Linked DNA regions of Homo sapiens: all the other regions are linked to region 3. The links are contacts of gene promoters, found by promoter capture Hi-C in blood cells and fetal thymus (Javierre and others, 2016). All regions are on one chromosome and are shown on one strand. Each heading gives the region's core, a stretch centred on a gene start or on the middle of the fragment in contact. The rest is flanking DNA. Distances are from core to core; before and after follow the strand shown. Region 1 overlaps SNX4 (sorting nexin 4). Region 2 overlaps OSBPL11 (oxysterol binding protein like 11). Region 3 holds the start of ITGB5 (integrin subunit beta 5). Region 4 overlaps SNX4 (sorting nexin 4).

Region 1 (5,211 bases), core at 12-2,511, 570 kb before region 3:
ATGTGTATGTGTATGCCGCATTTTGTTTATCCATTCATCTGTTTCTGTTTCCTTTTAGACTGTGAGAACATTCTCTTTGAAGGGAATGACTACCAAGCTCTTTGGTCAAGAAACTCCAGAGCAGAGAGAAGCCAGAATAAAGGTGCTAGAAGAACAAATAAATGAAGGAGAACAACAGCTAAAGTCTAAAAATCTGGAAGGCAGGTAAAGATGCTGCGATGTTTAAGTAAGCTAGGCTTGTAGACTATATGGTAGATTATTTTATTTATTTATTTATTTATTTTGGTAACAATTCCCAGCTTCATTGGCATCCCTGAATACAGCCTATTCCTTTAAAATGCATTCCTAAGAAATTTGAGTTATCACGCTGGGTGTGGTGGCTCACGCCTGTAATCCTGACACTTTAGGAGGCTGAGGTGGGAGGATTGCTTGAGCCTGGGAGTTTGAGACCAGCCTGGGCAACGTAGGAAGACCCTGTCTCTACAGAAATAAATAAATAAATAAATAAATAAATAAAAATAAAAGAAAGTTGAATTATCAAAAATAATGTTATAGAAACAGTTGTTTCAATGTGGGGGAAAGAGAAATAAAAGTTTCAACTTCATAATATTATTTTCCTGCACTATTCCTGATTTCTACCCTTTGTACTTTCCCTCCACCATTTCTTCTCCCCTCCCCTCCTTCAGTACCCAGCTGAAGTGTTACTTCATTGTGAAGCCTTCTCAGGCTATCACGGCATTTAATTCATGCCAGTATGGTATGGCAGTTTTGTATTAGATGATTGATTGTTCTGTGTGACTATCCCTGGCTAAATTTAAGCCCTTCAAAGTCAGTGATTGTATCTTTTCCACATTCACATCCCAGTGCCTTACATAGGGCTTAGCATGTAATTGTTACATAAGTATTTCTAGAAATTCAGTTCTCAGAGACCCACTATCACTGTTTGACTCATTTTTCTTATTTTTGTTTTCATCTGACAGTCAGTGAATAGACCAAGGCAGACCAAGAGTGTATTTTGGGTTTTGAGGTGGTTTTGTTCATTTTTAGAACTACTAGCACCAAATATGGCAAAGTAATAGATAGAATTAAAAAAGACAGGCCGGGCGCGGTAGCTCATGCCTGTAATCCCAGCACTTTGGGAGGCTGAGGTGGGTGGATCATGAGGTCAGGAGTTTGAGACCATCCTGGCTAACATGCTGAAACCCTGTCTCTACTAAAAACCAAAAAAATTAGCCGAGCGCGGTGGCAGGCGCCTACAGTCCCAGCTACTCGGGAGGCTGAGGCAGGAGAATGGTGTGAACCTGGGAGGTGGAGCTTGCAGTGAGCGGAGATCACGCCACTGCACTCTAGCCTGGGCGACAGAGTGAAACTCTGTCTCCAAAAACAAATACCTCTCGGGATTTTAATTTTTATTATTATTTTTCATTTTTTTGAGACGGAGTCTCACCCTGCTGCCCAGGCCGGAGTGCAGTGGTGCCATTGTTGCTCGCTGCCACCTCAAAGTCCAGGGCTCAAGTGATCCTCCCATCTCAGCCTCCCGAATCACTGGGACTACCGGCTACCAAGCCTGGCTAAAAAAGTTTTTAAACTTTGGTTGTGATTTAAAACAAGTACATGCAGCTGGCCGTGGTGGCTCACACCTGTAATCCTAGCACTTTGGGAGGCCTAGGAGAGTGGATTGCCTGAGGTCGGAAGTTCAAGACCAGCCTGGCCAACATGGTGAAACCTTGTCTCTACTAAAAATACAAAAAATTAGCCGAGTGCAGTGGCGTGTGCCTGTAATCCCAGCTACTCTGGAGACTGAGGCAAGAACCCTGGATGTGGAGGTTGTGGTGAGCCAAGATCACGCCTCTGCACTCCAGCCTGGGCTACAGAGCGAGACTTGGTCTCAAAAAAAAAAAAATGCTAAACGTGATTCATAATCCATCTTGTCAAAAGAGTGTATATTTTCCAGTGACCCCTGGAAGGCACTTACTTCATTGTGACTGACACCTGTTAGGTTTGTGAGCTGGCTTAAGGAGTCATCTATGTGTATTTTATAGGAATAATTTAAAGGTAGAATCCTTGTGGCAAAAACTTAGATTATTAGGCCAGGTGCAGCGGCTCACGCTGTAATCCCAGCAGTTTGGGAGGCTGAGGTGGGCAGATCACCTGAGCTCAGGTGTTCAAGCCCAGCCTGGCCAACATGGTGAAACCCTGTCTCTACTAAAAATACAAAAATTAGTTGGGCGTAGTGGCGTGTGCCTGTAATCCCAGCTACTCAGGAGGCTAAGGCAGGAGAATTGCTCAAACCCGGAATGCAGAGGCTGCAGTGAGCCAAGATCACGCCACTACACTCCAGCCTGGGCAACAGAGTGAGACTCTGTCTCAAAAAAAAAAGAAAAAGTAGATTAAAAGGTACAAGAATATATGACTGTCTGTTTGCTTTTTCCCTAACTATAATTTTTAGGAAAATAAAAAAACTGTCTTATACAAGCAATAACTCTTCCTTCTACATAGGCAATTAAAAACCAACGCCAATGAGAACTGGTTAACTTTTTAGTACACAGTTTATTTAACTTAAATAATAATAATGGCTATACCTTTTATTTCAGAGAATTTGTGAAAAACGCATGGGCTGATATTGAACGCTTCAAAGAACAAAAGAACCGAGACTTAAAGGAGGCCCTCATAAGCTATGCAGTCATGCAGATCAGTATGTGCAAAAAGGTAGGGTTTTTCCTGTTTCAGTGAAGATATATGTATATTCAGAAGTGCTTATACATGTATTTAAATTACCTGACCAAAAAATTTTTCATTTTTATTCTTCTCTTGTAGAATGTTTACCAATTTCTCTATTTTAATTTTGTAGGATTTCTGTTTTATTTTGTTTTGGTTTTTTTATTTTAAAATTTTAAATATTTAAAAAATAGATATGGGGGGGTCTCGCTATGTTGCCCAGGCTGGTCTCGAACTCCTGGCCTCATATAGTCCTCCTGCCTCGGCCTCCCAAAGTGCTGCAATTACAGGTGCGAGCCACCATGTCCAGCCTCTACTGGTGTTACAACCAGTATGCCCATTACTGAGTCTCCACTCATCTAAAGTCCAAATTTGTATCTCCATTTATAACTTGTATTTGAGAATATATACCAAGATTATTTAGATCATATGGTACTCTTGGACCAGACAGTAAAATACCATTCCAGGTATATGCTTTGATTGGAAAATAGCTTGAACATTATTTCGTGAAGACCTGGTTATGATATGCTTCCTCATAAAGTAAATCATTTGTGTTGCTGATATCCATAGTGAAAGATACAAACATTGAAGCTTATTCTAGTTAAAATAAATGTTTGACAATGATGGAAGACTTTCTAAAACGTTGGTTTAAGAACAAAATAGGAAACATTCCTTAACCTCTTTTTTATAACCTAAGATCTGCCAGTGTGACTACCAGTACCAGTGCTTTGATTTGTATCACCTGTCATAATTTATCAAGCACTTTTACATGCATTATCTCAGTAAATTACATGGTAAGATGAATTCTCACATTTATAGGGCAAAATCACACTCATATAAATATATATACAATTCTTATGCTTTAGTTTGTCCCAAAATTTTATTTTTTGGCTGTGGGCCATCACTGAGAGAACAAAGATATTTTGAGGCATAAACACCATACGCACTCACTGGTTAAGTGGGCTCCATTTGGTTTGGACAAATTCATATTTATGCTCAGTGAATTATAAGTTACTGTATACCGTGGATCTTTGGAGTCACTTAAAACAAGTTTAGATCGTGACTGTTGAGTCTGCAGGTGCTAAAGGTTGAGTATGTTGTAGTTTGGTAGCATCTCTATCTTTTTTTTGCCTTCATTCTGTCACCTCTTCTTGCCTGCAGCTAGGTGCTAGATATTTACAATCCATTGTCTTTTTCTTTTTTCTTCTTTTTTTGTTGAAATGGGGTCTTACTGTGTCACCCAGGCTGATCTTAAACTCCTGGGCTCAAGCAGTCCTCCCGCCCTGGCCTCCCAAATTGCTGGGATTATAGGCATGAGCCACCACACCCAGTAGTACAGTCCTTTTTCCAATCTAACTTTTTAACCTCAAGAAATCTGAAAGACCAGATAACAAAGGTTTTTAGTTTTTTTGTTTTTCCTGTAAAAGACTCATTAATAAGCTCCTTGTGATCTCTCATTCACTTCTTTCCAAAGTAAAGTGCAAGACCTTTATATAATGTCTCAAAGGACTTTCCCCCTCCGTTTTGTTTAGGCTGCAGTGGTTGAGGGTGCTAGAAATTTAATCTGTGAATATAAAAGATACTACTATAGCTGTATTTGGACATACTGTTGGATATTTTGTAGGTTTATTCACAAATCCTTAGATAACTAGTAAAACAAAAAGTTTAATAAGAGTTTATGTTCACCTTGTTTCCCAAGAATGGTACTATGCAATTTTGTCGTTTTGTTTTCTTGCCTAAGTGATATAGATTTTTATATGTGATCCTAGCTATTTGGGAGGTTGAGGCAGGAGGATCACTTGATCCCAGGAGTTCAAGACTAGGCTGGGCAACATAGTGAGACCTTCTTTCTTTCTTTCTTTCTTTTTTTTTTTTTTGAGACAGAGTCTCACCCTGTCACCCAGGCTGGAGTGCAATGGCATGATCTCAGCTCACTACAACCTCCGCCTCCCGTGTTCAAGCAATTCTACCTCATCCAGCCGAGTAGATGGGATTACAGGTGTGTGTCACCATGCCTGACTAATTTTTTTGTATCTTTAGGAGAGACGGTTTCACCATGTTGGCCAGGCTGGTCTCAAACTCCTGATCTCATGATCCGCCTGCCTCCACCTCCCAAAGTGCTGGGATTACGGGTGTGAGCCACCGCACCTGGCCCGAGACCTTCTTTCAAAAAGAAAAGAGAAGAAAAAGAAAATTGTTCAAAACCTTAATAAATGACACACTTTAATGATTAAGTATTAAAAAGTTCCTTTCTCATAAATGAGTAATTATTGGAGAATATGTATCTTATTGAAAAAATACCTTACTGAAAAAAACCCTTGCCGGGTACAGTGGCTCACTCCTGTAATCCCAGCATTTTGGGAGGCCAAGGCAGGTGGATCACGAGGTCAGGAGATCGACACCATCCTGCCTAACACACGGTGAAATCTCATCTCTACTAAAAATACAAAAAATTAGCTGGGCATGGTGGCAGGCGCCTGTAGTCCCAGCTAC
Region 2 (5,079 bases), core at 1,740-4,239, 680 kb before region 3:
AAAAAAATATATATATATATACACACATATATATATGTCCACTATTTGAGAACATCTATTTGTTGAAATTAATTGTGCTAGGGAAATGTTATTGCACGGGACTACAAAAAATGAGTCTTTCTATAAATAAGATGCTCATCACATTGTATGAGCAATAACTTAATAATGCTAGTGATGATAGTAACTTAATACCTTACATCTCTTTGTTCTGTTATTTAACTAATTCACCTTACTCATAAAAGAAAGGTATTTTAGAAAGGTAGAGTCTCTGCTCAGGAGACAGTTTCCCTTACTCAGATGGATATAGGATGGACCTCATCCTCATGTGTGCCTAAATTCAACAATTCCGGCCAACAAACTGTTTTTAGTGGCAATTGTAGTTGCAGGTTAGGGCACTATTGAGAAAGGCCAATCAGTTATGTATGTTCCTCTTAAAAAATTCATAGTCCACTTAGGGAAGAAATATGTAAATAATAAGTATAAAATAATGTGTAGGGGCCAGGCACGGTGGCTCACACCTGTAATCTCAGCACTTTGGGCAGCTGAGGCAGGCGGGTCACCTAAGGTCAGGAGTTTGAGACCAGCCTGGCCAACATGGTGAAACCCCATCTCTACTAAAAGTACAAAAATTAGCTGGGCATGGTGGCAGGCGCCTGTAATCCCAGCTACTCAGGAAGCTGAGGCAGGAGAATCGCTTGAACCCAGGAGGCGGAGGGTGCAGTGAGCCCAGATCGTGCCACTGCGCTCCAGCCTGGGTGACAAGAGTGAGACTCCATCTCAAAAATAATAATAATAACGTGTAGGGTGCTACTACCAAAAGGAACAAACTGTGGGAGAATAGCTGAATGACTGGTAGAAAGAGTTCTGAGAAAGGCACAGAGAAGCTGCAAAGACTGATTAGTTTAGGAGTGAGAGGTAGAGGAAAGGGCATTCATAGTTTAGGAGTGAGAGGTAGAGGAAAGGGCATTCATAGTTTAGGAGTGAGAGGTAGAGGAAAGGGCATTCCAAAGTGATAGAAGAGTCTAAATTGTGAGTTGTGAACGTGAATTCATGACTTGTAGGAATTGTAAGTAGTTCAATATAAATTTTCTCTTCTTACAAAGCAACATACTCATTATAGAAAATACTGTAGAGTCAAAAGAAGAAACAAAAAATATGCATTGTCCTACCAACCAGAAACCACCACTGTTGATATATTAGTATACTCCCCATCCCAGGTTTTCTCTTTTTTCTTCTTAGTTTTTGTTTCTTTTGCCCTGTTGTTATTGGAAAATATACGTTTGTATCTTTTTTCACTTTACATCAAAAATGTTTTCCAATCATATGCTATTTATAAATTTGCTTAGTATTTATATTCCTTTGAGGAGACAAGTGTATTTTGGTTTACTTAACTATATCCCTGTGTTGAACATTGGATGAGTTAGGCTTAGCTATGAAATTTGGGTTAATTCTAGTGTTGGTAATCATAATTCTCAGTCAAATGAAACAGTTTGTTTCCAGTTTATACTACTTAATTATTTGCTTATTTTTAAGACAATATATTATATATTTTTTATTTTATATTTCTTCTCACTCTGTTGCCCAGGCGGGAGTGCAGTGGCACCATCATGGCTCACTGCAGCTCAACCTCCCAGGCTCATGCTATTCTCCTGCTTTAGCCCCCCAAGTAGCTAGGACTACAGGCACATGCCACCATGGCTGGCTAATTCCTTTTAGTTTTTGTAGAGATGGAGTCTGTCTGTGTTGCCCAGGCTTACTTAATTTTTTAAAAGTATGTCAAGTAACACAGCACTAGATATTAGATGCTCAATAAATACTTGATTAATTAAATACTAAATTTCATTTGTGGCCGGGCATGGTGGCTCACGCCTGTAATCCCAGCACTTTGGGATGCGGAGTCAGGCAGATCACCTGAGGTCAGGAGTTCAAGACCAGCCTGGCCAACATGGTGAAACTCCGTCTCTACCAAAAATACAAAAATTAGCCAGGCATGGTGGTGAGCACCTGTAGTCCCAGCTACCCGGGAGGCTGAGGCAGGATAATCACTTGAACCTGGGAGGTGGAGGTTGCAGTGAGCTGAGATTGCACCACTGCACTCCAGCATGGGCAATAGAGCAAGACTCTGTCTCAAAAAAAAAAAAAAAGGATAATACATTTCCTACTCCTACATTTCTGCTGTAGTAGTCTGAGCATCCCTTATTATAGCACTCTATAACCAAGCTTCTGTGAAACCTAGATCAGCAACTGAAATCAAATGGAACATTTTCCATTATTGATTAGGCATAGAATCCACTTTGTTAAACTAGTCGAGGGTAACAAGAGACATTTGAATCATTAACCGAGAAGATGACAGGTCTCCAAATGTGACCACTGTCTTCACTGGGTCAGTTATTATTTATTCAGTAGAAGAGTCTTTCAGTTTAAGTTGTATGGGGCTTTTTAAAAAATGATTTCGAAAAAGGACATGTATTTGCAATTCTTAAATTAGATCCGGGGGATTATTTTGATTGGTTAGACAATTGTTGCTGAGAGTAAGACTCGATCCCAAATTGAAACAAATCTTACTGTTTCACAGTCCCAGACTCCTCCTGTAGCTGTGCCTCTCTAAAGCCTAATTGCATATTTTTTAATCAGTAGAGGGACAAAGACAACAAATCAACTGTTAGGTTGGGAATATACTTCGTGATTCACAGACTTGTCCAAGAAGTAAATTCAGTCCTATTCAGGGTTGATTTCTTTTAAATAGTATCTGATATCAAGTTGCAAGTTGCTCTGTTGTAAAATACCCAATCATGGTGCTCATGCTAATGAGATATAAGTGGCTGTCTTGCAGGGTCTCTTAACAGGTTTAATTGCTTTTAGGCTTGTAGGCTCAAAACAAAATTGTTAAAATCCACATCTGCCGAACTTTCTAGATTATGAGCAAGTTTCAGCGAAAGTTTTCTCTTACTCCATCAGGAACGACAATCGAGTGGTTAGAACCAAAGATATCTTTATCAAACCACTATAAAAATGGAGCTGACCAGCCCTTTGCAACTGATCAGAGTAAGCCGGTGGCAGTCCCAGAAGAGCAGCCTGTTGCAGAATCTGGACTATTAGCGAGGGTAAGGTAATATAAAAATATGATTTTGATGTGAAAAATTAGGTATCACTGAAAAAGGGTCAGTTTTCTTTTCATTGTCAGCTCATGCACATCAACTTAACACCTGAGCAACACTCTTGAAGATTCTAAAACATTTTAAACTGCATTGTTTTTGAAGAGGTCTCTTATATTAAACTTGTTGAATTTTCCAGGTTAAATTATATGCCCTTTTAACTTTTAGTTTACTTTTGCTTGATAAAAATATATTTTAAAAATTGAAATTTATGTTTTTCTTTTTCTAGAAAATAACTTATCTAATGAGATTTGCACAATGTTTGTCTCTTATGTTTCTTAACCTATTATCTTAACATTATTTATTATTAAGTTTATAATCTTAAAAGTTGAGTCTTTTTCATAGTAAGCACTTTACCAAGCCAGTTGTTTCAAGTATTACCCTACTTAAAATAGCACATAATCTTAGGGTTTATATTTTTATAAACTATTATTCATTTCACATTTCTTAGAAGCTGAAGAGTGTTTTATTCTATTCATAATCTACCACTGTAACAAATCATATTGATATTTTTGCCTTTTGTGTTCACATCTGTTATTTTAAGCTATTTTTACTTGATAAGCATTTTCCTATGTTGTACTGGTCTGTATAATTAAAGCTTGAAATAGTCTATTGAGTTAATGTCCCTATTGTTGAATATCTAGATTGTTTGGAGGGTTTTTTTTTTAATTATAAATAACACTTTATTATCTTGTTTCCAACTTTTTCTCCTTTTTTTTTGAGATGGAGTTTCGCTCTTATTGCCCAGGCTGGAGTGCAATGGCACAATCTCAGCTCACCGCAACCTCCGCCTCCGGGGTTCCAGTGATTCTCCTGCCTCAACCTCCCTAGTAGCTGGGATTACAGGCATGCGCCACCATGCCCAGCTAATTTTGTATTTTTAGTAGAGAAGGGGTTTCTCCATGTTGGTCAGGCTGGTCTCGAACTCTGGACCTCAGGTGATCTACCCACCTCAGCCTCCCAAAATGCTGGGATTACAGGTGTGAGCTACCGCACCCGGCCTTCTCCTATTTTTTTTCTTAGGTTATCTCTTTAAGTTATATTACCAAGTAGCATTACTGAGTCAAGAGTAATGCATAGTTTATGGTACTTTATATATTCGTAAATTACTTCTTTAAAGAAATATATGGCACAGGGACTTCCAAAGTTGGCAAAAGTTTTGGCTTGATAAGACAGGCATTGCAGGCAAGGGTTGGCAGGGGAGAAGAAAAAACAATAATGTATAAAATGCTTATTTCTCTGTAGCTGTTTGACTGGCTTATTTGTAGAAACAGCAGTTAGTAAGTATTTATTAAGCTTAGTATATGGCAAGTACAATGCTAAGAATTAGAGGAGAAGCAAAAATTAGAAGATACAGGTTTTTCACTGAAGAGACTTATAATCTGCTTGGAGTCACAACATATACACTAAAATGAGATGATAATATAAAGCAATATATTTTTTTCTTAATTGATACCATGTAGGCTATTGGGATAGGGGCATTCAGAGAAAGGAAGAAGACATATTGAGTCGGGTACATGAGAAATGCTTTGGGGAGAAAGTGGGATTGGAATTGGGCTTTGAAAGGAGACAGGATTTGAAGGGAGGAGGAAGAGAATGGGAATCTCAAGATGAAGGACTAACACTAGCAAGGATCCTAAGGCATGTGTGTTTATTGAAGAGAAAGCTTGCCTGGTAATTTTGAACCCAGGATATGCCATTCACTGACATGTGAACCAATTAATTAACCACTCTTAGCTTCAACTTCCTCATCGGTAAGGTAGGGATAATATACTACCTTGTAAGATCCTTATGAGGATAAAATGAATTTAGTAGAACACCTGGCTTATGGGAAATGATCACAGTATTTTTGGATTTTACAACTCTGAATGGCACTATTCATGTTGTACTCTGTGGAATGAAGCTTCCAGGAGCACTGCTCCAT
Region 3 (5,350 bases), core at 947-3,446:
ATATCTGAGACCAGTCTCAGTCAATTTAGAAAGTTTATTTTGCCAAGGTTAAGGATGTGCCAGTGACGGGAAGTCCTGACAATATGTACCCAAGGTGGTCGGGGTTACAGTGTGCTTTTATACGTTTTAGGGAGACATGAGACATCAATCAATATGTGTAAGACGTACATTGGTTTGGTTTTGTAAGGCAGGACAACTTGAAGTGGGGGCTTCCAGGTTAGAAGCAGATAAGAGACAAAAGGTTGCATTCTTTTGGGTCCTTGATCAGCCTTCCACTGAATACACAATTTAGTCTGGCTCAGTGAATCTGCATTTTTACATAAACAATAGGCCAGAGGGAGCAATCAGGTATTCATTTGTCTCAGGTGAGCCTCAGAGGGATGACTTTGAGTTCTGTCTGTCCTTTGTCCAAAAGGAATTTCCTGTGGGTAAATTGTGAGGGAGGTATGTAGCTTCTTAGCTATCTTAATTAGGCATAAAATGGGAGGCAGGTTTGCCTGACACGGTTCCCAGCTTGATTTTTCTCCTGGCTTAGTGATTTGGGGGCCCTGAGATTTATTTTCCTTTCACAAATACTATAAAGGAGCTTGCTATGGACTGCTGCATCTTTGCCCCCAGGCACACTATATTGTACTTCAAGAAGTTTACTTCCTCAGGCATTGAGGCACCACCTTGTTAGAGTTTGGGAGGAGGCCAAGAAATAAAGGTTAACATCCAAACTCCTTGAGCTGGGCAGTTAGGACAGTTTTCCACTGGGCCCTCCAAGCCATTCTTCCACCAGGTCCCTGGCCTGCAAAGGTGAGACCCCTTTGTTCTTTCCCCCTTACTGCTTCAGTTTTAGCCAAGCCATGCTGCACTTTTGAACGAGGCATCCTAGCTGTCACTTCCTCCAGCAGTTAACCCCTCTGTCCCTCGGTTCCTCAACTGGATAACAGTAGGGTTGTCGGAGGATGAAATGAGTTAATATGGGTAAAGGACTTAGAACAGTGCCTGGCTGGCAGTGTGCTCTCTGTACTTGGTAGGTATTCTATCGTTATTTTCCCCTACCTGAATGTCGCCTCTTCTCTTGCCTATCAACCACTCCACTCTAAACGCACTTGTAGCGAATCCAAGCCCAAGGCATCCTTTCCTGCACCATCTGAGGAAGACCCCACCCCACTCTTTATTGGCTAGTTCAGATCCAGCTTATATGTAAATGATAAGATGAAAGCCTGAGCATATGTTTTTGAGTCTATCAGTTTGATCATGGAAACTGACAGATTATCAGTAAGGACAACGAAATATAGCGGCATATTGGCCAGTCTCAAATCCTTGAAAGGTGCAAAAGTTAAAAAGTGAAAAGTGGGCCGGGCACGGTGGCTCGCACCTGTAATCTCAGCACTTTAGGAGGCAGACACAGGAGGAATGCTTGAGCCCAGGAGTTCAAGACTAACCTGAGCAACACAGCGAGACCCCCATCTCTACAAAACATGTAAAAATTGTCCGGGTGTGGTGGCGCGCGCCTGTAGTCCCAGTTACTCAGGAGGCTAAGGTGGAGGAACCTTTGAGCCCAGGAGGTCCAGGCTGCAGTGAGCCAAGACTGGGCCAGTGCACTCCAGCCTGAGTGAGAGCAAGACGCTGTCTCAAAAAAAAAAAAAAAAGAAAAGAAAAAGAAATGTAGGTTTTACTTGTGCCTCCACGCCCCACCACGCCCTCCCTTGCTCATCCAGAAGTCGCTTTGCGGTTCCACGCGCGGGCGTCTACGTCCCATCTCAGGCCGCCGGCAGTGAGGCTTTGGGAGGATGAGGCGGTACCGGCACGACCCCCGTACCTGCTCTCCCTCTCGCAGTCTAGCAACCGCCTTTGGCCCAAGTAATCTCGGCTCGCCTAATACAGCGTGCCCCGCCCCTTTCCCGTGGCGACGGGCGGCTAAGCAACGGGAGCGGGCTCTACTCAGTGGTTTCGAGCCCCCCACGCCCCAAGTGAGTCGCAAGCGACTTCCACCTGGGCCCGTAGGGCCTCCGCGTCCCGGGCCGGTCCCCGCACAGGGCGGAGCTGGCCCGGCCCGGAGCTCGCCCCGCCCCGCCTCACCGTAAGCTGACCGTGTGGCGGCCGGGCGAGGGCCTGGCAGGGGAGAGAAGGGGAGGAGAAAGGAGAGGAGGAAAGTGGAGCCTGGCGGGCCGGAGGGAGGAAGGGAAGGGGCGGAGGCCAGGGGCAGAGTGTGCCGGCGCGCGGGGGAGTCTCGGCGCTGGGCGCGTCTCGGAGCCCAAGTCGCGGCCGCCGAGCGGAGCCAGCCCCTCCCCTACCCGGAGCAGCCCGCTGGGGCCGTCCCGAGCGGCGACACACTAGGAGTCCCGGCCGGCCAGCCAGGGCAGCCGCGGTCCCGGGACTCGGCCGTGAGTGCTGCGGGACGGATGGTGGCGGCGGGGCGCGGGCCAGCGCGGGCGCCGTGAGCCGGAGCTGCGCGCGGGGCATGCGGCTGCGGCCCCCGGCCCTCGGCCCCCGCGCTCCGGCCCCAGCCCCGGCCGCCGGCCCCCGCGGAGTGCAGCGACCGCGCCGCCGCTGAGGGAGGCGCCCCACCATGCCGCGGGCCCCGGCGCCGCTGTACGCCTGCCTCCTGGGGCTCTGCGCGCTCCTGCCCCGGCTCGCAGGTAAGCCGCGCCGCCCACGGCGCCCAGAGAAACTTTGTCGCACACTCAGCCGCGGGCGGGCGTCTCGGAGGGGCGGGGAGCGCAGGCGGTGCCTGAGGGCGGAGGGCGCCTTCGGGGCACTCCCTGGTGGGCCAGTCGCTGGGGGACAGCCCCGCGGGGCGCTCCCCGCGCGCAGCCCCGCCGGGCTGTCGTGAGTCTCCTGTTCCCTCCCGGGCTGAGGAGGAGCTTCCCTTCCTGTGTAAACAGGCTGGCCGGCCTGCTGACCTAGCCCGCCAGGGCCCGCGCCCAGGGCACGGGGAGGACCGCCGCCAGCCCTGCCTTGGGGCCCGGGCTCTCCGTTGGCGGGCACAAAGCGGTCCTTGTGGCCGGCCGGGAGCGGGCGGGCTGCTGGGGGGATGCCGTCGGTGCCCTGTTCCCGGAGAAGCAAGGGAGTCTCGAAACCCCAGCCAAAGCCCGGGGCCACCTCCACTCCGGAGGGCTCGCCTCCTGGAACAGCGGGTGCACAGGGCCCACAGCGAATCCTGGAGTTCGCTGCGCCTAGGCTAGCCGCCTGCCTTTGAAGATGCAGCCCCCACCCTCCCCGCCCCCCGCCTGCTTCCTCCTCGCCTAGGCCACCGCAAACCCGAGGGGGCACCCGCGTCCCAAACCACAGCCCCACCTGGGACTTCCCTATTAAATTCCTTCTGCCCGACTTTATCCCGCGATTTGCACACGCTCGGAGCCTCACACTCCCCTAACTGTGGAGGATTCTGGAGCAGAGGACAGGGGCTGTGGAGATTGCCTTAGCCCGACGCTGCGGTGGGCTGGCAGCGTTGCAAGGATCCCTCGGTTACCTGCTCTAACTTTTCAGAGTTGGGAGATGATTGGACGTGGTAGTTTGGAGGCCCTCGAGGAAGGATGCACTTGTTTGGGATGCGGATTTTCTCCTTTCTTTTAGGAAATAATAGTGCTCTATTAACTTTCAAGCCGGAGATACTTGATTGCTCTTGTGAGCCAAGTGGTTGCCTGGCTGCCCGAAGGGAGGACTGTTCCCCCACGGTGTCTCATTTACATGAAGGCAGTGGAGGTTTAGGTTTAAGAGCGGAGGAGGGGTCTGAGCAAACAATAACTTCGTTCAGACCCTAATTCAAACTTAATACTGTAGCAAGGTTTTTGGTTTTTGTTTTAAATGGGAAAATAATCACTCCAGAGCTTGGAGAGTAGATGAGTGGATTCCAAACACCCATCCGGCAGCCAGTGCCCATCACGGATATTTTCATGGGTCCCTAGGGAAAGCGAGGAGCAGGAAGATGTAGCCTGCATCACACAGGAATGTATTGTTGTCAACGCTCCCCTGCTCCACAAGGACTTTCCTTTAGTTTGAAATTAGGCACTTTTTCTTTTTTTGGTGGGAACATTTTCTTTTAATACTTCTTAATAATATTAGTAGTTTTTAATTTTGGCAAAATAAGAAAATCTGACAACCCTATGTTAAGCTCCCCTTCTCTTTTTCTGTTTGTTTCTTTTGTTTTGTTTTTAAATCTTAGTTTTCTTTGAAATCCAAAAGTTCAGAAACTGCCAAAGGAGATGGCTTTTAAGTTCCTTTCCAGCTTGACATTCTGTAATTCTGACAAACAGAATTATAATAATAATTTCTAGTTGCAAATAATTTTTTTTTTTTGAGTCAGAGTTTCAGTCTTGTAGCCCAGGCTGGAGTGCAGTGGTGCCATCTCGGCTCACTGCAACCTCCACCTCCCAGGTTCAAGCAATTCTCCTGGCTTAGCCTCCCAAGTAGCAATGATTACAGGCGCTGCGACCATGCCCGGCTAATTTTTGTATTTTTAGTAGAGATGGGGTTTCACCATGTTGGCTGGGCTGGTCTTGAACTCCTCACTTAAGGTGATCTAACTGCCTTGGCCTCCCAAAGTGCTTCAATTACAGGCATGAGCCACCACGCCTGGCTGCGAATAATTTCTAAAAATACATTATTTTCCACTTGCATCTTGCTTTCTCTTTTTCAGAGTTCACGTACATCTTCACGGTGATGTCCATTTTCTCATATGGGCTCAGGAAGGAAGTGACTTGCCCTTCCCCTCTACTTGGGTCAGGAGTGGTGGACCAGGGACCATGGCTTTTGGTCCAGTGCCCTTTGTCCTACCGACTCAGCTTAAGGAAGAGAAAAGCACTGAGCATGGTGGTTCATTTGCAACTCTTTTGGGGTCCTGTTTTCCCATTGCCTATCTTTTCTTTTCTTTTTTTTTGAGACAGAGTCTCACTCTTGTTGCCCAGGATGGTGTACAGTGGCATGATCTCAGCTCACCACAACCTCTGCCTCTCAGGTTCAAGTGATTGTCCTGCTGAGTAACTGGGATTACAGGCATGTACCACCACGCCTGGCTAATTTTGTATTTTTAGTAGAGACAGGGTTTCACCATGTTGGTCAGGCTGGTCTCTAACTCCCAACCTCAGGTGATCCGCCCGCCTCGGCCTCCCAAAATGCTAGGATTACAGGTGTGAGCCACCACGGCTGGCCTCTGCCCATCTCTTTGACTACAGGTTTTGGTGGTGGTGGTGGTGGAGCAAGCCATGGCACTGGCCTCCAGAACTTGCTGCTTACCTCTTAGGGCCCTGAAGCTTCTCAGGATTAGCAGAGGTTGACTCACATCTGTGTCATTTCTCCTAGTTTTTCAGTGTTGCTGAATTAACTTCAACATTCTTTTTTTTTTTCTTTTTTTTTTTTG
Region 4 (4,611 bases), core at 489-2,988, 590 kb before region 3:
GATCGACTCTATGGTGTATATAAAGTACATGGGAATTATGGTCGAGTTTTCAGGTAAGCATCATACAAACTTTAAAAATAATTAGCTTTAATTACCTTTTTGCCTGAAAACAATAATTCTTGAACATTTATGAGTGTGGAGAGAAGATTATTTCTTTTTTTGTTTGTTTTTGTTTTTTGAGATGGAGTTTCTTTCTTGTCACCCAGGCTGATGCAATGATGTGATCTCGGCTCACTGCAACCCCCGCCTCCTGGGCTCAAGTGATTCTCCTGCCTCAGCCTCCCCAGTAGCTGGGATTACAGGCATGCGCCACCACACTGGGCTAATTTTGTATTTTTAGTAGAGATGGGGTTTCACCGTGTTGGTCAGGCTGGTCTCGAACTCCTGACCTCAAGTGATCTGCCTGCCTAGGCCTCCGAAAGTGCTGGGATTACAGATATAAGCCACTGCACCCAGCCCTTTTTTTTTTTTTTTTTTTTTTTGAGATGGAGTCTTGCTCTGTCGCCCAGGCTGGAATGCAGTGGCGCAATCTCAGCTCACTGCAACCTCTGCCTCCTGGTTTCAAGCAGTTCTCTGCCTCAGCCTCCCAAGTAGCTGGGATTACAGACACCTGCCACCACACCTGGCTATTTTTTTGTATTTTTAGTAGAGATGGGATTTCACCATGTTGACCAGGCTGGTCTTGAACTCCTGACCTCGTGATCCACCCGCCTCGGCCTCCTAAAATGCTGGATTACAGGTGTATGCCACTGCACCCGGTTTTTTTTTTAATACAGGGTCTCACTTTGTCACCGAGGCTGGAGTGCAGTGGTGTAGGTCTTGGCTCACTGCAACCTCTGCCTCTCAGGCTCTAGTGATCCTCCTGCTTCAGCCTCCCAAGTAGCTGAGACCACAGACACACATCACCATGCTCTGCTACTTTTTGTATTTTTTTGCAGAGATGGGACTTTACTATGTTGCCCAGGCTGATCTTGACCTCCTGAGCTCAGGTGATCCATTGGCTTCGGCCCCCCATAGTGCTAGGATTACAGACATGAGTCACCATGCCTGGTCCCCTACTTCGGATTATTAAAAAATTTTCTCAGCCAGGCGTGGTGGCTCATGCCTATAATCCCAGCACTTTGGGAGGCCAAGGCGGGTGGATCACCTGAAGTCAGGAGTTTGAGACCAGCCTGGCCAACATGGTGAAACCTCATCTCTACTAAAAATACAAAAATTAGCCAGGCATGGTGGTGGGCTCCTATAATCCCAGCTACTCAGGAGACTGACTCAGGAAAATCGCTTGAACCCAGGAAGTGAAGGTTGCAGTGAGCTGAGATCACACCAGTGCACTCCAGCCTGGGCGGCAGAGTGAGACTCCATCTCAAAAAATGAAAAAAATTTTTTCTCAGGTGGTGGGTTCTAGGTGGGAAAAAAAATTCTCATTTCTTCTGTATTTTGTGGTTTCATAAATTTTTGATTCAGCTATAATTTATTTGAATGTAAGATGTGAGATAGAGATTTAAATTTATTTAATTCATTTATTAGAGTAGTAGGTTATCCATATGTCTTTGGTTGATCAATACATTAAAATTAAATGTCAGTTGAGACAGATCAAGGTTATATGACTTTTTTAATTAAAAGAAGCTTATTGATATTATAAAAATGTAAACTCTTCATAACTAGGACCAGGGTCTATGAAAATATATGGTCAACTGTAAAAGAATAGTATAATGGGAAGAAAGACAAATAGTATTATACGTTTTGAAGTCTACCTCATACTGTCTGACTTAATATTAATTGCTTTTAGTTTTATGCACAAGTCATCTCTAATTTTTAGTATTACTCAAACTGGAACCCAATTAAGCTTGGGAACAATGCTTATTTAAAAACAAAAATTATATCCCATAGGAGACATGTGGGGGGGAATTAACATAAACTAAACATTCTCAAAGGTAGCACATTTATTATAGTTAATAAATGAACTTTTTAATTAATTTGAGAGGCAGGTAGACAAAAGATCAATTGGTTGAATCAAACTTTAAAGAAAATTATTTGCATTAATGCCACATGATAAATATTGTACAGGTTTGTTTTTTTTGCCAGCTTAATAAATTATTAGAAAGCCACTTTACATTTAAAAAATTTCATGAGGCTGGATGTGGTGGCTCTCATCTGTAATCCTAGCACTTTGGGAGGCCAAGGAAGGAGGATCACTTGAGGCCAGGAGTTCAAGACAAGCCTTGGCAACATAGCAAGACCCCATCTCTACAAAAATAGTTTAAAAATTAGGCATGGTGGCACATGCCTATAGTCCTAGCTGCTTGGGAGGCTAAGATGGGAGGAACACTTGAGCCCAGGAGTTCAAGGTTATAGTGAGCTATGATCACACCACTGCACTCCAGCCCAGGTGACAGAGCAACACCCTGTCTCTCAAAAAAATAAAAACAAAAATAGATAATAAATAAAAACATCTTACGACAACTGAGCCAGAAAGACCAGAGGTGGTTGAGGTAATTTAATCAAGACCTGAACTACAGCAGTTGCCAGTGAAGAATAAAGAGACCTAAATGATAGACTTACCAGTGGATTTTTTTCAGTCATTCAGCATACGGTAACTGAGCTCCTGTTACCATGGTAGGTGCCAAGAATACCAAGATTTAATTTAGGGCAGTTGAGTGCCTAAGGATTTGTGATAGAGAATGTAGGTGGAATGGTGGGTTTGAGGGATGAGGTTGAGGGTTCTCATGTGGATAAATTGCATTCTAACTAAAGATTTTTATTAAGCAGTTAGAAATTTGGATCAGGAATTTAAGAAGCTAGTGAGAATATGAGTTGTATATATAAAGTGTGTCCTTATAGAGTGATTTTTTAAAACATAGAGTTAGTTGATAATATTAGAGGGTTAGAGCAAGTCTACAAGAGACTCAAGGGAATATCTGCGTTCAGGGATCAGGCAAGAAATTGATGAGGAACATGGAGTATTCAAAGTCAAGCAAGTGAAGGGAACACTTCAATAATGCTTGGAGTTATACTGTAGAGAAATTGAATTTAGGCCAGGCACAGTGGCTCATGCCTGTAATCCCAGCACTTTGAGAGGCCGATGCGGGCAGATCACTTGAGGTCAGGAGTTCAAGACCAGCCTGGCCAATATGGTGAAACCTCATCTCTACTAAAAATACAAAAATTAGCCGGGCATGATGGCGTGTGCCTGTAATCCCAGCTACTTGGGAGGCTGAGGTGGGAAAATTGCCTGAACTAGGAGGTGGAGGTTGCAGTGAGCCGAGATTGTGCTGCTGCACTCCAGCCTGGGTGACAGAGCAAGACTCCATCTCAAAAAAAAAACAAAAAAGAGAATTGAGTTTAGATGAGAAGGGGGAAAATGGGTAAGTACATCTTTGGTGTTAATTTGGAAAGCAGTTTAAGTGGTATGATGTTATGTCCTAGTGATCTAGGAATAAGAGGAAAGGATTAAGGAAGGAAAGACAGCAAGTTATTGATTAGTCTTTTAAGAAAGTCCCTACTCATGGATGTGAAGATGGCAACAGTAGACACCGGGAACTGCCAGAGCGGGGAGGGAGGGTGGAAGGAGACAAGGGTTGACAAACTAACTATTGGGCGCTGTGCTCACTGTGTGGGTGATGGGCTCATTTGTATCTGAAATCTTCACACCATCCAGTGTACACATGTAACAAACCTGCACATGTACATGTACTTCCTGAGTCCAAAATAAAAGTTGAATTTTTTTTTTTCAAAAGTGCCTGAGGAAAAAGATGAACTGTGGTTATTTTTGAAGGGTAATAAGACTTTTTTGAGAAGAGGCTGGGGCTGGGGTGGGATGGTGGACAGGGGAGGGATAGGAGCATGGACAAGGGAGAAGATAGGGAAGGTGCAGAGCTGTCTTAAGGCAGGGGAGAGGTGAGTTGTAGAAGGCACCGTGAAGTAGGTATCTTTTTTGAGAACAAGTTTGTGTAATTGTGTGGTTGTGGGGATTGAGGGGAATGACATTGGGCAGTCTGTCTCAAACAGTGCAGAGAATTCTCTTTTGGGGGATTGGAGGGAGGGGTGCCAATAATACTTAAACTTGTCCTACTGCAAAACCTCCTTTACCTCCCTTCACCAATTCACATGACATTGGCCAGAAGCAGCTGTACCAAGTGCAGGAACTCTCTGAAGGCTTGAGTTTTATCAATTCATGCAAAATCTACATTGTATGGATACTTTAATATTTATTTTTAAAAGTTTATTTTTCCCCACTAATGTTTAAGTAAAATTTATTCTTCAGAAAGAGTGTGCCATGTCTATTATATGGCTTCCAATATCCATGATGAAAACATCCCAGCTTGAGAAGCACTGATGAAGGCAACACTTCGGAATGTGGAAAGGATTGCTGAGCAGCGCCAGTTTGTGGGAGATGGTTTTTATCTTTTTGGTGCTGCTGACCTATAAGAGTAATGAAAAAATTCAAAAGTTGGGGGCCACATAATCGGAAAAAAAATTAATTTGTTCTTTGGTTTGCAGTTTGAGAGGGGAAGAAATACAAAGCTGGTTTTATCAGCTTTTTTTTCTTAATTGAAATTTTTTCAATATATTCCTTAAGTAATTTTTGTAAAATTATGGCAATTGGAGGTT

What was found. Contacts are between HindIII fragments. The CHiCAGO score rates a contact against its expected background, and 5 or more counts as called.
Region 1: a contact is called between a fragment that was not itself captured here and the fragment with the promoter of ITGB5 in region 3, in 6 of 17 cell types (activated CD4 T cells, fetal thymus, total CD8 T cells and 3 more). The highest score is 9.0, in activated CD4 T cells.
Region 2: a fragment that was not itself captured here is called in contact with the fragment with the promoter of ITGB5 in region 3 in 1 of 17 cell types (fetal thymus); the score reaches 5.2 in fetal thymus.
Region 4: a contact is called between a fragment that was not itself captured here and the fragment with the promoter of ITGB5 in region 3, in 2 of 17 cell types (total CD4 T cells and naive CD4 T cells). The highest score is 6.0, in total CD4 T cells.

Annotation. Positions count from the first base shown.
Region 1 is chr3:125,448,803-125,454,013 of GRCh38, reverse strand. It overlaps SNX4 (sorting nexin 4), which reads left to right. Exons shown (of 14, transcript NM_003794.4): 12 at 59-204; 13 at 2,595-2,709. Among named protein-coding and RNA genes, the nearest start is that of SNX4, 69 kb to the left of the region's middle. The HindIII fragment of the contact is 4,100 bases long and covers 1-3,311 here.
Region 2 is chr3:125,561,723-125,566,801 of GRCh38, reverse strand. It overlaps OSBPL11 (oxysterol binding protein like 11), which reads left to right. Exons shown (of 13, transcript NM_022776.5): 7 at 2,959-3,104. Among named protein-coding and RNA genes, the nearest start is that of OSBPL11, 31 kb to the left of the region's middle. The HindIII fragment of the contact is 1,533 bases long and covers 2,223-3,755 here.
Region 3 is chr3:124,884,211-124,889,560 of GRCh38, reverse strand. It overlaps ITGB5 (integrin subunit beta 5), which reads left to right and starts at 2,196. Exons shown (of 15, transcript NM_002213.5): 1 at 2,196-2,630. The coding sequence starts at 2,561. RefSeq lists enhancers at 1-820, 821-1,703, 3,472-4,356 and silencers at 1,818-2,257, 2,718-2,807. The HindIII fragment of the contact is 6,734 bases long and covers 1-5,245 here.
Region 4 is chr3:125,472,137-125,476,747 of GRCh38, reverse strand. It overlaps SNX4 (sorting nexin 4), which reads left to right. Exons shown (of 14, transcript NM_003794.4): 8 at 1-53. Among named protein-coding and RNA genes, the nearest start is that of SNX4, 46 kb to the left of the region's middle. The HindIII fragment of the contact is 220 bases long and covers 1,629-1,848 here.